4 separate regions of the Homo sapiens genome follow, and regions 2, 3 and 4 are each linked to region 1. Evidence: promoter capture Hi-C in 16 types of primary human blood cells and fetal thymus (Javierre and others, 2016). All regions are on one chromosome and are shown on one strand. Each heading gives the region's core, a stretch centred on a gene start or on the middle of the fragment in contact. The rest is flanking DNA. Distances are from core to core; before and after follow the strand shown. Region 1 holds the start of COXFA4 (cytochrome c oxidase associated subunit FA4). Region 2 holds the start of C1GALT1 (core 1 synthase, glycoprotein-N-acetylgalactosamine 3-beta-galactosyltransferase 1). Region 3 holds the start of MIOS-DT (MIOS divergent transcript). Region 4 overlaps RPA3 (replication protein A3).

The links. The method cuts DNA at HindIII sites, captures the fragments that hold promoters and counts their contacts. A CHiCAGO score of 5 or more calls a contact.
Region 2: a fragment that was not itself captured here is called in contact with the fragment with the promoter of COXFA4 in region 1 in 1 of 17 cell types (fetal thymus); the score reaches 6.3 in fetal thymus.
Region 3: a fragment that was not itself captured here is called in contact with the fragment with the promoter of COXFA4 in region 1 in 2 of 17 cell types (non-activated CD4 T cells and activated CD4 T cells); the score reaches 10.5 in non-activated CD4 T cells.
Region 4: a fragment that was not itself captured here is called in contact with the fragment with the promoter of COXFA4 in region 1 in 1 of 17 cell types (total CD8 T cells); the score reaches 5.6 in total CD8 T cells.

The regions. Positions count from the first base shown.
Region 1 is chr7:10,938,412-10,941,712 of GRCh38, reverse strand. It overlaps COXFA4 (cytochrome c oxidase associated subunit FA4), which reads left to right and starts at 1,560. Exons shown (of 4, transcript NM_002489.4): 1 at 1,560-1,697; 2 at 2,817-2,905. The coding sequence starts at 1,656. It overlaps LOC107986767 (a long non-coding RNA gene), which reads right to left and starts at 1,457. Exons shown (of 3, transcript XR_001745091.3): 1 at 982-1,457. RefSeq lists a silencer at 1,028-1,277 and enhancers at 503-1,423, 1,308-1,577. The HindIII fragment of the contact is 7,174 bases long and covers 1-3,301 here.
Region 2 is chr7:7,179,503-7,182,803 of GRCh38, reverse strand. C1GALT1 (core 1 synthase, glycoprotein-N-acetylgalactosamine 3-beta-galactosyltransferase 1) reads right to left here and starts at 260. Exons shown (of 4, transcript NM_020156.5): 1 at 1-260. RefSeq lists a silencer at 1-520. The HindIII fragment of the contact is 2,093 bases long and covers 789-2,881 here.
Region 3 is chr7:7,563,498-7,566,798 of GRCh38, reverse strand. It overlaps MIOS-DT (MIOS divergent transcript), which reads left to right and starts at 734. Exons shown (of 5, transcript NR_110084.1): 1 at 734-885; 2 at 2,475-2,562. RefSeq lists a silencer at 1-94. The HindIII fragment of the contact is 1,676 bases long and covers 413-2,088 here.
Region 4 is chr7:7,640,797-7,644,097 of GRCh38, reverse strand. RPA3 (replication protein A3) reads left to right here. Exons shown (of 8, transcript NM_002947.5): 5 at 2,923-3,301. UMAD1 (UBAP1-MVB12-associated (UMA) domain containing 1) reads right to left here. Exons shown (of 4, transcript NM_001302348.2): 1 at 3,277-3,301. Among named protein-coding and RNA genes, the nearest start is that of UMAD1, 1.7 kb to the right of the region's middle. RefSeq lists enhancers at 2,886-3,055, 3,136-3,185, 3,226-3,301. The HindIII fragment of the contact is 1,494 bases long and covers 1,257-2,750 here.

The DNA.
Region 1 (3,301 bases), core at 311-2,810:
CTGCCCCATAGAGATCCACTTGAATTTTACATAGGCACTTATACATCATTCTCTACGGCTTATTTCAATAACTGGCATCAACAACCACAGAGCTGCTCAAAACTGAACCTCTGAAATTATTCTTAACTTCTCTCTCCTCACTCCTGGAGAGCCAACCACCAAGTCCTGTTGGTGCCACCTTCTAAACATCTCTGGAATCTTTTTTTCTCATCATTACATTCTCTACACTAGTTCAAGCTACCATTATCTGTCACACAGATTATGGACTATTGCAATGGCCCCTTGATAGGTCTTTCCCCTCTCACGCTTATCCCTTCTAATCAATTATTCACAAAGCAATCATTTAAAAACACAACCTTCCCAAGCTCTCAACATAAAACCCATGATGTTTAAGCGGTTATTGGCCCAGCAGATCTGATCCCCACCTTGCTCTCCCTTTTACTTTCCAGCCACACTAGACCTCATACAGCTCCCTCGGGTTTTCAATAGCTTCAGACCTTCACGTGTTATTACCTCCGCCCTGTACACCTGCATCCTCCGTTTTCACCTGGTTAATGTCCGCTCCTCCTTCAGAGCTAGTGTAACTTCCGGTGGAGCCTTCTCCTATGATTTCTAGTCCCAATTATTAATACTTGCTTGATCATTTGATTAATGCTTTAAGCTACGTATGAGATTGGAGAGGGTTCAGAGTGTACATTTTATCCCAATCCCCCCACCCTCCCCCGCAAAGCCTGTCCTATGGAAGTCCTTCGGGTAAAAAAAACAACGAAGAAAACAAAACAAAAGACAAATGAAAATTCGACTGGGGTAGTGGGAAAGATTATCTGTAGCTACACGACCATTGAAAACACATTTTAAAGATGCAATTTGGGACCAGGGACGGGGGATAGTGGCGTGTTGGAAAGGTCTTTGTGGCGACGAACTTTCAACCGAGGGCCAGGATCTGAGGGTTCAGAAATACACTGCCAGGACTATTATCACCTTTAAGTCATTTACTAGTTTTTAACTTCTGCTTGTCTGCGACAGCGTAACACAGGAAGCAGCTGCAGTCTTCTCAAACCGCAGCCGCTGACCTTAGCGGCAAGAGGCCCGACCTGCCCTCCAGGCGCCCGGCGCTCGGCTCCCAGAGGCGCCGCGCAGCTCCCTCAGCGGCAGTCACAGCTGGCCAGCGCGCACCCGGCACGCGCGCCCCCAGGGCCTCTGCGCGCGGACCCGGCTCTCAGGCGCCGCGGGAGAGGCCCCCTACTCACGGAGCGCGCGGCCCGTGCGCCCACGCTCCGACCGCATTCCTCAGTACGTGGCACCCTTGGAAAGTGCCTGTCTGGTCAATCGAAGAGTCCTCGTTTCGACCAAAAAAATTCCCCTCAGAAATATGCATGGCACGGCAATGAAGGCATTTCACTATGAAGTGGAATGATGATGGTCCGACCAGGTCAGGACGAACATATGAGGGGTTAGATCTAAGCAGGCACTATTAAAGACAGTCGCATCCGGGCCCTCCTGCCGCAAGCTGCCCTCCCAGCCAAGGGTCCTTCAGGTAGGAGGTCCTGGGTGACTTTGGAAGTCCGTAGTGTCTCATTGCAGATAATTTTTAGCTTAGGGCCTGGTGGCTAGGTCGGTTCTCTCCTTTCCAGTCGGAGACCTCTGCCGCAAACATGCTCCGCCAGATCATCGGTCAGGCCAAGAAGCATCCGAGCGTAAGTTCGTGACCGCTCTCCTAATGTTTTCCCTTGTCCTTCTTGCGTCGGGGTGCGCCTCTTTCTGTTCCCTGGGAACGTCCTCATTTACAGCCACTTACCGTCCGTCAGACCAGACCCTGCCTCGCCTAGTGTTTGTCATCTTAGTTGTCCCAGGCCTCTGTGACCCTCTACGCCATGCATTGTGGGGTTTTGTCTGACAGGAGGAAGGAGACGGACACTGCTCGGAAAAAAAACCTAGTTTTTTCTAGTTAGTGAATATTGGAACAGTCTGGTGGCCGCTCTCTTTTGCAGGTTGTGCGGTCCAGGAGGGATAGATGTGCGCTGTGTGGGTCAGAGACTAGCATAGGTCAGGTTCCCTATGTGTTATACCATCTCTGGAGGTTCTTGTATTCGCCGCATTGCACCACCAGGCCTTTTGGTAAATAAGAGGGGTCCGTGATCTTGGAATCCTCACTTTGTCTGGACGTCGTTGCTTTTGGGAAAATTTCGAAGTGTGGAAATTGCAGTTAAGTTCTTTGGCATCTCATTTTTCCTCAGCACATCAATGTGCTGTAGAGCTAAAAGTCTATGCAATCTTTAATCTGTCTTAAATCCGGTTCCCTAAATACGCAGCAAGCATTGGTAGCATTACGTTTTCAGAGATAATGCTTAAAGCCAGTATTTGTAATAGATACGTTTACTTATTCAGATTCTATTTTTCATACATCTTTATAGAGGCACCCTTAAATAATTTGCAAAGAATTTGTTTTTCAAGCCCCAGGATAAAGGAAGCCAGAAAATTTAATGGGAATGACATGTAAATATTAGAGAGGTGAAGAAGACTCGATACATTTTCTTGGAAATTTAAAAATGTACCTATAATTTGCTCCACATTAAAAAGTAAGACACTTAAACCAGAGTCATCTTAACATCCTTTCCAAATTCCATTTCTTTCTTTAGAACACAGTTATAAGAAATCTTACCTCAATGTAAGATCTACTTTATTTAAATTTTAAGACAAAACAGTCCAATAACAGTTTGAGACTTGGAAATCAATGTGCAGAAACTACTGTAATCTCTCGTTGGCCAGTGTTTTAAGTATTTGAAGATGGTTATTCTATTTTGTGTTTGGTTTAGTTGATCCCCCTCTTTGTATTTATTGGAACTGGAGCTACTGGAGCAACACTGTATCTCTTGCGTCTGGCATTGTTCAATCCAGATGTTTGGTAAGTACTTAAAAATGTTTAAAACTTTGATAGCTGATCAAGGCAGTTTAGGAGCCACAGTCTCTGTAGGGCGATAACATTAGGGTAGTAGAAAGAATGTTACATTTACAGTCATACAATAAGTTCAGATCTCAAATCTGCTGTTTTCATTTACTTTTTTTGGTTCATGAAATTATCTAATTTCTCTGAGTCTCGTTTTCTCTTTGGTAAAGTAGAACTGCTAATACCAAATCTTGTAATGTTTTGAGGATTGACATAAAAATAATTGTTTTTATAAAATAATCATGGTTCTCGGCACATGTAAATGTTTTTTGCCTTCACTTGCACATTTGCAGTTGAAAAACAATAGACAATCAAAAGATTGATTCATCATTATTCTATGCACTTTTCTGTATA
Region 2 (3,301 bases), core at 586-3,085, 3.8 Mb after region 1:
TCCCTCTCGCCCCTCCTGGGGGGCGGAGAGGGGGACGACTTGGGACTGGTGACCTTTGCTTCTCTGGGCAGCCGCAGAAGTGGCTCGTGGCCGCTAGCCGAGGCCGCCCGCTGCCGCCCAGATTATTCCCCGGCAGCGGCAGCACAGCGGCGGCGGCCAAGGCGGGCCCAGCGCGCGCTCCCGCCCGCTCGCTCCGCCCCTCCCCGCAGCGCGTCCAGGCCGTGGCCCGCCTATGGCGCAGCCGCCACCCGAAGTCTCCTGGCGCTGACGTCTCCGCCGCCGCACCAGCCCCAGGGAAGGGCGGAGCGGGAGGGGCGGTGGGCGGGGATACGGCGACGTGAGGAAGCGGGGATTGGCTGCCGGGTGCACGCTCCGCCCTAATGCGAAGGGGTCTGGGAAGTCGGATCTTGCACGAGCAGTAGATTTTGTTGTATCCCCCTTGCGGCTTGTGTCTGCTACTCTCCGCATTTCTGATCCTGCTGTAAGGTTATGCACTAGCTTCAAGACCTTGAGCGGGACGAAAGCAGGGTAACAATAGGGAGCGAGAAAGGGGATGCTTGAAGGACCTTTGTCTGAGGTACAGGCTCTAACCCTGCAGGACTCTTGTGGCCTGTAGCCTGCTCTTAACCCGTTCATTTGTTTTTCTGTTCTCTCCCCGTGCTCTCTTTACTCAGTATCTCTCTGGGCTTAATAAAAGGAAGTAATAAGATGAAGTATGCATACGGGTGCTGGGTCATCATGTGAGAACCAGGAAGAGCTGAGAACCGAGATAATGATACCAGAAAGCTTTCTATAGGCACATTTCGTCTTTGGTTCTGTCAGCACTTCGGTTCTGTGGGGCAATGGCCGGAAGAGCTTCTTAGGGGCGTAACAAAACCTATCTCCCCTTTCGCTGGGCTCTGAATAAGGAAGTTGTCTTTGGAATAGGGGGAGGAGGCTGCCACCTGTTGAGGCAACCCCACAATAGTCATGAGGTGAGGGTAAGGTTTAGTCTTTACTGGCGTTAACCATTATCTACAAGACCACGTTCCAGAATAGGAAAGCTACCCTGCTTCCTTTAAATGCCCTATCCAAGCGGTTCTTTAGTACTCTACAGCATGGTTGTTAAAGAGTATGGGCTCTGAAATCAGACTGCCCGGGCTGGCATCTTGGTCCCTCCACCTATTGGCAAGTTACTTAGAATGCCTGAGACAAATAATAATATACATTAGTTATTGTTATTTTTCCTTTAATTTGCTTAGGTTCAGCTGTAGTGTAGTTTCTCAGGACATTGCATCAATATATCCAAAAGAATTGTGAAACATAAAGCACATGTAGTGATTCTAATACAGATGTCTCATTTTTCAGATGACAAAACTAAGGCCAGAAAGATAAACTGATAGGTCCATGTTAGAAGAGAAGTGCAGCTATCCTGATGTCCAGGTTATTGCTCTTTCCTTGGCTCATGGGTCCAGACTTCTCTGCCTTACATGATTACGTCCATTCTCTACTCCTCCCCAACTTGTATACAGTTGTTGCTCAGCCTCCTCCCCCTCCACCTTTCCGCAATATCCTTCCACCTTTCCGCAATATCCTTCCACCTTTCCGCAACATCCTTCCACCTTTCCGCAATGTCTTGCCATCCATTGTGAAACATGGAAGGAGAACTCTTTCAGGGGTCAGTGTTCCAAATAGAAACCAAAACTCACAACTCCTTATCTCGTTTTAATTTTATTAAAAGTTATAATTAATAAAGAATAACACTTTTTTCCATTGAGCAAAGATTAGAACCCTTTCCTAAAATAAGGTCAGCCACAGCCTTATCCTGGAAAATTACTTGCTAGAAACAATACTGGACCAAATCAGCCCTGCCCCCACCCTGCCTTTCTTTGAAAATAGCTTTTTTTTTTTTTTGAAGAGATATGGTCTTTCTATGTTGCCCAGGCTGGAATGCAGTGGCTATTCACAGGTGTGATCTTGGCACACAACAGCCTCGAATAACTGGGCTGAAGGCTGAAGCAATCTTCCCGCCTTAGCCTCCCCAGTAGTTGGGATTACAGGCACAGGCTGTGGCACCCAGCTAATAACTATTGTTTTATAAAAACAATACATGCTTATGCAAACAAATTTAAAAAATTTAAACAAAAATGCAAAGAAGTTAAAATCTGTCCAAATACCATAATATAGAGATAACCATTTCTTAAATTTTGTGTTACATTCTTCTAGGCATCTCTCTAAGAATAAAAGCACATATAGACATATAAATACAATATTTCATAAATTGGATCGTATTATCTGCACAGTGAACAACAGTCATGAATAACATCATTTTTAAAAGTTGCATACTGTCTGTTAAATGGATATACCATCATTTATCCAACCAGTATTCTATTGATTGACATTTATGTTTCCAAGTTTTTACTACCATAAAAAAAGTCTCTGATGAACATTCTTATCCATAGGCTTTTGCACAATTGTGCAATTATCTCCTTGAACACATTCCTAGAAGTGACATTAATGTCAGCCAATTCTTCGACATTTTCAATTAGAGAATAAAAATTGTGGTTACTTTGAAAAATATACTTTATATGTGGGACTCAAAACTGACCAGATTCTCCCATTTGAAACATACTTGAAACACACATAAACCTCAGTATTGTTGTTTCTCTTGTGTCTAGTGTTTAATAATGCATGTCAAAACTCGTTGGAGTAGGTCGGTAGACATTACTAGTTGTCTAAACCAAAATCCTTTCTTCTTTACTAGTAGAACTCTGATTTCTTCAGGGTGACAATGTGGCCAGTTAAAAATATTCATGCCCCTAGACTTTCATAAGTCATGGCTGGCCATGTGACCATCAATTAAATAAAAGTGAATTTCTGTAGAGGAGACTCAAGGAAAGCTTTATGGAAGAAATATCGCTTTAGCCATTTGATATGCACCCATCCCTTTTTTTTTTTTTTTTTTGAACCTGAAACAGGGACATGATACTGGAGGTAGAACAGCCATATTTCACCCATAATAACAAAAGCCACACAGACACTATTAATAGTGTAGGACACCAGAGGTGCCTAGGTCCATGGTTGCTTTGGAGGGCCAACTTACCAGGTCTGGACTATCCACTTCTGGATTTGTTGTTAGGTGAGGAAGATTATATCCCTTCTATATAAGATTTTGTTATTGTCTGTTGTAAGTATCAAATGCAATTCTTAGTTGACATAATAAGATAGGCCAAGTCATCATTTATTTAGCACTATATATAGAATTTTTTAATAGACAGAATGAGGTGAAAATGGTGACAGAAAATGCAAACAAGCTAGCAAC
Region 3 (3,301 bases), core at 1-2,500, 3.4 Mb after region 1:
CGAAAGCGCCGGTGCACCCCGCAGGCCCTGCCCGTGGGTCCACAGGCCGGATCCCCGGGTTCCTAGGCTGGGACTGCTTCTCAGAACCACTCTGTCGTTTTTAAGCAGGGTCACACACTCTAGCTCACTGGGTCCATTTTAATTTCTATTAAACATTTTTTTTTTTTTGCAAATGATGTAGTAGGAGATCCAAGGTGTTTGGTTAATGATTTATTCACTCATTAGTCATTCCACAAACTTGTCTTGAGCACCTGTTATGTACCCAGCACTGTGCTGGAATGCTGAGGAGACAGGAGTGAAGTAAAAAGACATGGTTCCGGCAGGAAACAGGCAAGGAGAGCCTTGACTTGGTAGGGCTAACACAGTGCTACACAGGAGGGACGCCCGCTCGGTGTCGGGGGTCAGCAAAGCTTCCTTAAGGACCACTAGGTTGAGACAAGAAGGATGAGTATGGGATTAGCCAGGAAAGGGAAAAGGGCAGTGGGAACTGGAAGAGAAGAGCCTTCTAGGACTGGGAAAGAGCAAGTGCCGGGTCAGGAGAGAGGACATAGCAGTGAGGAGGCAGTAGGTATGGATGAATGAGCAGAGGAAGTGGGGAGAGATTAAGGTGCTTTCAGAAACGGGTTGGAAACCAGTTTAGTGAGTTTGGATGGCATTTACCTAAAGGCAATGTTAGAGTCATCGAAAGTTTTTAATCAGGCAAGTGGTATGATCAGTTTTTTGTTTTGTTTTGTTTTTTTTGAGACGGAGTCTGGCTATATCGCCAGGCTGGAATGCAATGGCGCGATCTCTCCTCACTGCAACCTCCGCCTCCCGGGTTCAAGCGATTCTCCTGCCTCAGCACCTCGAGTAGCTGGGACTACAGGCGCGCGCCACCACGCCCAGGTAATTTTTTGTATTTTTAGGAGAGATGGGGTTTCACCATGTTGGCGAGGGTGGTCTCATTTCTTGACCTCGTGATGCGCCCACCTCGGTCTCCCAAAGTGCTGGGATTACAGGCATGAGCCACTGTGCCCGGCCAGTATGATCAGTTTTTGCGCAGAGAGCTGGAGGGATAGAGTATCAGAATGAGGGATGATAGAAACGCAGGTTACCAGTGGCACGGAGAGTGGGCATGGAGAGAAGTGGGGGCCCTGGGGAATACTTAGAAGGCGGGATGAACAGAGCTTGGTGACTGACCAAGTGAATGACGGTGAAAGAGGATTCCAAGTTTTTTGTTCCCAAAACTGAGTGAATGGTGCTGCCTCAGGTGTCACGAGTCTGACCTCGAGGCAGTCTTCAGATGTCTGACAGTCTTTGCTTGTCTGTTCATGATTAAAAGTGGGTGGTCTTGGGCTTGTGGTGGTGATGGCTGTAAACAGCATAATGAGCTTAGTCCTGATGATCTTGGTGGCAGATGGTTTTGATAAGATGATGAGTTTGGGGAAAGTATTGCCTTTCCAATCCTGCCATTAGAAGAATGTAGGCTGAAGAAAGTGCTGTATTACTGAGAGGAGACATGACAGTATTCATCACTTCAAACACTATCTTGCCAATCTTCTCAGTGGTTTTGACCCTGGCCTCAAACCCCCACACAAAACCTCAGATCAATACAAATCTCTTCCTTATCCACTCCTACTATACATAGTTGAGGACAACTTTTCTGCTTGCACTCAGGAGATGACACTGCCTCCTACTTCAGAAAAGAAAATTAAAACTATTAGCTAGAATTTGCACAACCTCCCACTGCTTCCTCCTTCCCTCCTCCAACATCTTGATTCACTACCATTCTTACCTTCTTTTAGGTGACAAAGAGTAAGAGGAGGAACCCCATGTATATCTCCTCTTCTGGGACCTTGCACCATCAATTACTTCACTTCCATGTATCTTTGCCTCTCCATTTCTACTGGTTCTTTACTTTCAACACATACTCAAGTTATTCCCATTTTCTCTTCAAAGGAGAGGATCATATTTGCTCTCTGTAATTCCACTTCCCCCTCTCTCCCTTGAATTCACTCCATTCAGTCCTTCATGCCCACCATGCCACGAAACTGCCACTTGTCAAGGTCACCTGTGAGCTCCATGCTGCCAGTTTCAATGGCCAAAGCTTCACTCTTGCAACTTCTGTTGTTCTTGACTACTTCCTCTCTTGACATGTCTCATTCACTTTGTTGCATATCATCACTTTCTTCTGGTTTGTCTTTTATCCCTGTGACTTCACTGTTCCTTAAACATGACAAGCATGCTCTTGCCTCAGGGCTTCTTCACTAGCTATTCCCTCTGTCTGGAATGCAGAAATCTACATGACTCATACTCTCCCTTTACTCAAGACTGCTCACTTGTCACTGACTACCTATAAATTAGCTCCTTTGTTGTTGTCTTTATGACACCACAACTTCACATACGTCGCCATCTCTTTACTTTCCTATAGTTATCTTCTAGACTGTGTCTTCTCCTTATCTCCAGTTTTCATTCTGTATTTTTTTTCTTTTTAGTAAGAGGAAATAACTCTACATTCAAATTTGAGCAGGGCACTTGGTGACCTACTTAGACATGACATTCCTTGGCCTCCCTTTCAGCAAGGTAAGGCTATATCAAAAAGTTATGTCCTGTAAGATGTGAGTAGAACTGGATCATGTCCCTTAAAAGGAAAGCTGCTTGCTATACACTTTCTCTTCCCTCTTCTTGCTGTCTGGCAAATGGCAAAAAGAAATACAGACTGGAAATGGAAGCCATGTATTAAGGAAGGCAAAGCTGTTCTCACTAGCCTAAGTCCCAAACTAATCTCAGGGAGCTGGGGCACCTCCTCCCTTGGATCAACCACAGACTTCTGGACCATTATGCAAGAGAAAATAAACTTTGTTCTTTAAAAAATCATTGTTTGTTTGGACCTGGTAGAGCAGCTTAGCCAATTCCCTAATTAAAACAGAGGGGCTCTGTCTATTTTATTCTCTGCTTAATCACCAGGATGTAAAACAGTACCTAATAAATGTGGTAAATAAAAATGTATTGAATAAATCCTAAAACAACGTATTTATTCTACATCCTCCTCCAGCTAATGTCCCTTTTTCAACTTTCTTTTCCACTCAAGCTTTGTGAAAGTATATATTTTTTCATATTGCCACTAATTCTTCTAAAGCCCCTCACAGGAATAAGTGACACCTTTCTCAGTCTTTTTGGAAACTGATTCCCCTTCTCTACTAAACCAAGATCCTTGCAGGTAGCAATCTTTTAGCATGGAACTTTGGATTTCCCTTAGCACCTGTTGCATAGGTATCCAAAAAATATTTACTGAGTTGAGTGAGTGCTTTGTATCTTTGGA
Region 4 (3,301 bases), core at 754-3,253, 3.3 Mb after region 1:
AAGAATATACAATAACTGTAAACTGTCTTATACTCCAGGTAAGAGAGTAAACTGGTACCACCATTTGGGGAAATCATTTTTTTACTAGTGGCAGAGATCCAAGTTACCCCAAGTTACCGGTGGCCTATCCTCACGGGTCAGTAGCAACTTCAGTCCTTGCCTCCTCAGACGAAAAAATTTGACTGAGGGGCATAAAGCAGAAACAGAGACCCAGGCAAGTTCCAGAGCAGGAATGGAAGTTTACTTTAAAAGGCCTTAAAACAGGAAGAAAGGAAGGTGTGCTTGTTAGAGACCCAAGCGGGAATGTGAAGGTTAAAGAGAGTAGGTCAAGTGTCCGATTTAACCGTTGATCCTTTTTTTTTCGTTTGTTTGTTTTTTTTTTTTTTGAGAGGGAGTCTCGCTCTGTGGCCCAGGTTGGAGTGAAGTGGCGCGATCTCGGCTCACTGCAAGCTCCGCCTCTCGGGTTCACGCCATTCTCCTGCCTCAGCCTCCCGAGTAGCTGGGACTACAGGCCCCCGCCATCGCGCCTGGATACTTTTTTGTATATTTAGTAGAGACAGGGTTTCACCATGTTGACCAGGGTGGTCTTGAACTTCTGATCTGAGGTGATCCACCCGCTTCAGCCTCCCAAAGTGCTGGGATTACAGGCGTGAGCCACCGCGCCCGGCCCTGATCCTAGGACTTTTACAAGCTTGTCTATTTCCCATGATTCTTTCCTTAGGATAGGCTGCCGGCAGGCACAGAGCCCTCCTTAGCCTTGGGAAGTGTTTTTAGGGAGTTACATGCACGCCCATCTGAGGCTTCCTTCCTTTTTCCGGTGGAGTGTACCTGGAAGATCATACTTTACCATTTTTGTCTCTTAATATGCATGCCCAGGAAGCTGTTTCTCCCTCGGGTCTACATTCAATTAACATTTTGATAACAGGTGTGGACCATCAGGAAATGGCCTCTCCCTGGCGCTGCAGAATTATCATTTTTAGAGAAGCAAATTCGGTAATTGCCAAACCATCCCCCAACATTTCTAGTGGGTTGGGGGAGAGCCCACTACTGTCCCACTCATGCCTACCTGTAACAGAAAAAAAAATATGATCTACGTACATTCGTCAACATAGATGAATCTCAAAAACAAACAAAAGAAGTCAGAAGATACATACGTTTCTGTTTATATAAAGGTCAAAGACTGGCAATATTAAACAACATACCATTTAGCAACGCCTGCATGTGTGATAAAACCACCTAGAAAAGCTTAGGAAGCTTAACACAAATTTCAAGATAGTGTTTACTTATGGCTGTAGCAAGGAGGGCTTCATTGGGGAAGTGCAAACTGGTAAAATTTACTGGTAACTGGTAAAGTTCCATTTCTTCAGCTGAATGACAGGCCCCATGGATTCATTTCATTTCTCTCAAAACTATGCAAATCGGCTAGCTATACTTTTTTCTGTACATCATGTATTTTATAATATTTTAAGTGACTCAAAAATACACGAAAAAGCTGTTTTAAATTATCTTCCTGCTCATCTCCCTGTTTTAAAAGAAAGCCTTTGCTTAAAAGTGGTCTTTCTAACTGCAGGTAAACAACGACATTAACATCTGGTACTCACAGGAGTGCTCTTTAAAAAAAAAAAAAATCACTATTACAGGGTACGCACCAAGGCTCACACCTGTAATTCCAGTACTTTGGGAGGGAGACGGGGGAGGGAGGGATCGCCTGAGCCCAGGAGTTTGAGATAAGCCTGGTCAACATGGCGAGGCCCCATCTGAACAAAAAAAAACAAACAACAAAAAAAAAATCTTTATTAGCTGGGTGTGGTGGTATGTGCTTATAGTCCCAGCTACTTGGCAGGCTGAGGTGAGAGGATCGCTTAAGCCTACGAGTTAAAGGCTGCAGTGAGCTATGTGCATGCTACTGCACTCCAGTCTGGGTGACAGAGAGAGATCTTGCCTCAAAAAAAAATGCTATTAAAGACATTGATGTGTGTACTCTCCCCTATATAATGCACATCAACTTGCTTTGCAAAACAATGCTAAAGTACAAAAGACTTAAAGCTGTAATATAAAATAGACTTTACTGACTTGCACCAATACAACCACAACTTTTTTATACACCACTGACACACATTCTACATCTGTTTAATGAAATCCTTTAAAGTACCGTTAGTGAGTAAAACTAAGACAAACCTATTAAGTGCTAAGGAAACACTAAGGGAGACTATCATTTAATTATCGTACATGAGATTCCAATCTTAAATTGCCACGTGAAGTCTCAAATCGGATCTTTTTTGCTTAAGGGAATTTGAACGATGACAATTCTGTAGCTTTGGGCCAATTCACAGACTCAGTTTCCACAACGTTATAATACCCAATTAAAACTTCTGTCCAATTTCCACCGTACCGTTTGAAGGTATTTTTATGTGCACTCATTCTAGAATACTCCTGGCAAGGCCGCCGGCTTCGGGTCACAAGATGAGCCAGGGACAGATTGGAGACTACCCCCAAATCTCCCAGGAATCGGTTATCTTCCAGACCTCCAGATCGCCCTCCAGAGTCTCGCAGTGTGGAGGGCAACGACAGAAAGACTGCTGAGGGGGTTTAAACTGTTGAGTCAAACATATGGCCAAAAGTCAGAGTCAACTGGGACCTTGCAAATCATTCCGCCTAACCCTTCGTTTTGCAGATGGGGAAAACACGCCTCAGAAGGGAGAACCCTAGCTCGGGGAACCCTAGCTCGGGGTCTAACAACGATTTAAGCTTGTCTCCCCTAGTACTGGCCAGTGGTTCTTCCCCGTTACCCATCCTTAAGTGCTTCTATTGGCTGCCAACACGGAGGGGTTAGCGGGGTGAAAGAACCGGCGCCTCCGCAGTGTGGCCAGGTTGGGCTAAAAAACGTCTTAGAAGTAATCGGATCAATCTCTCTTCTTACAGGTGGAGAAAGTGGAGAAAGTAGAGTGACGCAGCTAAGGGAGTAAATCGACCCTCAGCCAACAAGTGGCAAAAGCCTGAAGAAAGTGATCAAGATCACTGATGACCCCGCTGCCCATCTCCAAGGGGGCGGGTATCACAACCCCGACGCCACACCACGTATCATTCCGCAAAACTCCCGCGCCTCCCACGCAGAACTGGCAAGAGGGAAGGCGAGACAGCAGTGAACAGCTGGTACGCAGCACCCACAGCACCGCGGCAGCAGCTAGTGCCGACTCCCGCCTAGCTCTTTTGACTCTGTTCGCGGGAAGAATGGGGAAACAGTAAGGTTGCGGCGCCTCCCGCGAGACGAGGTACCTGAGGCTGGCCCCGCAGTCCCCCG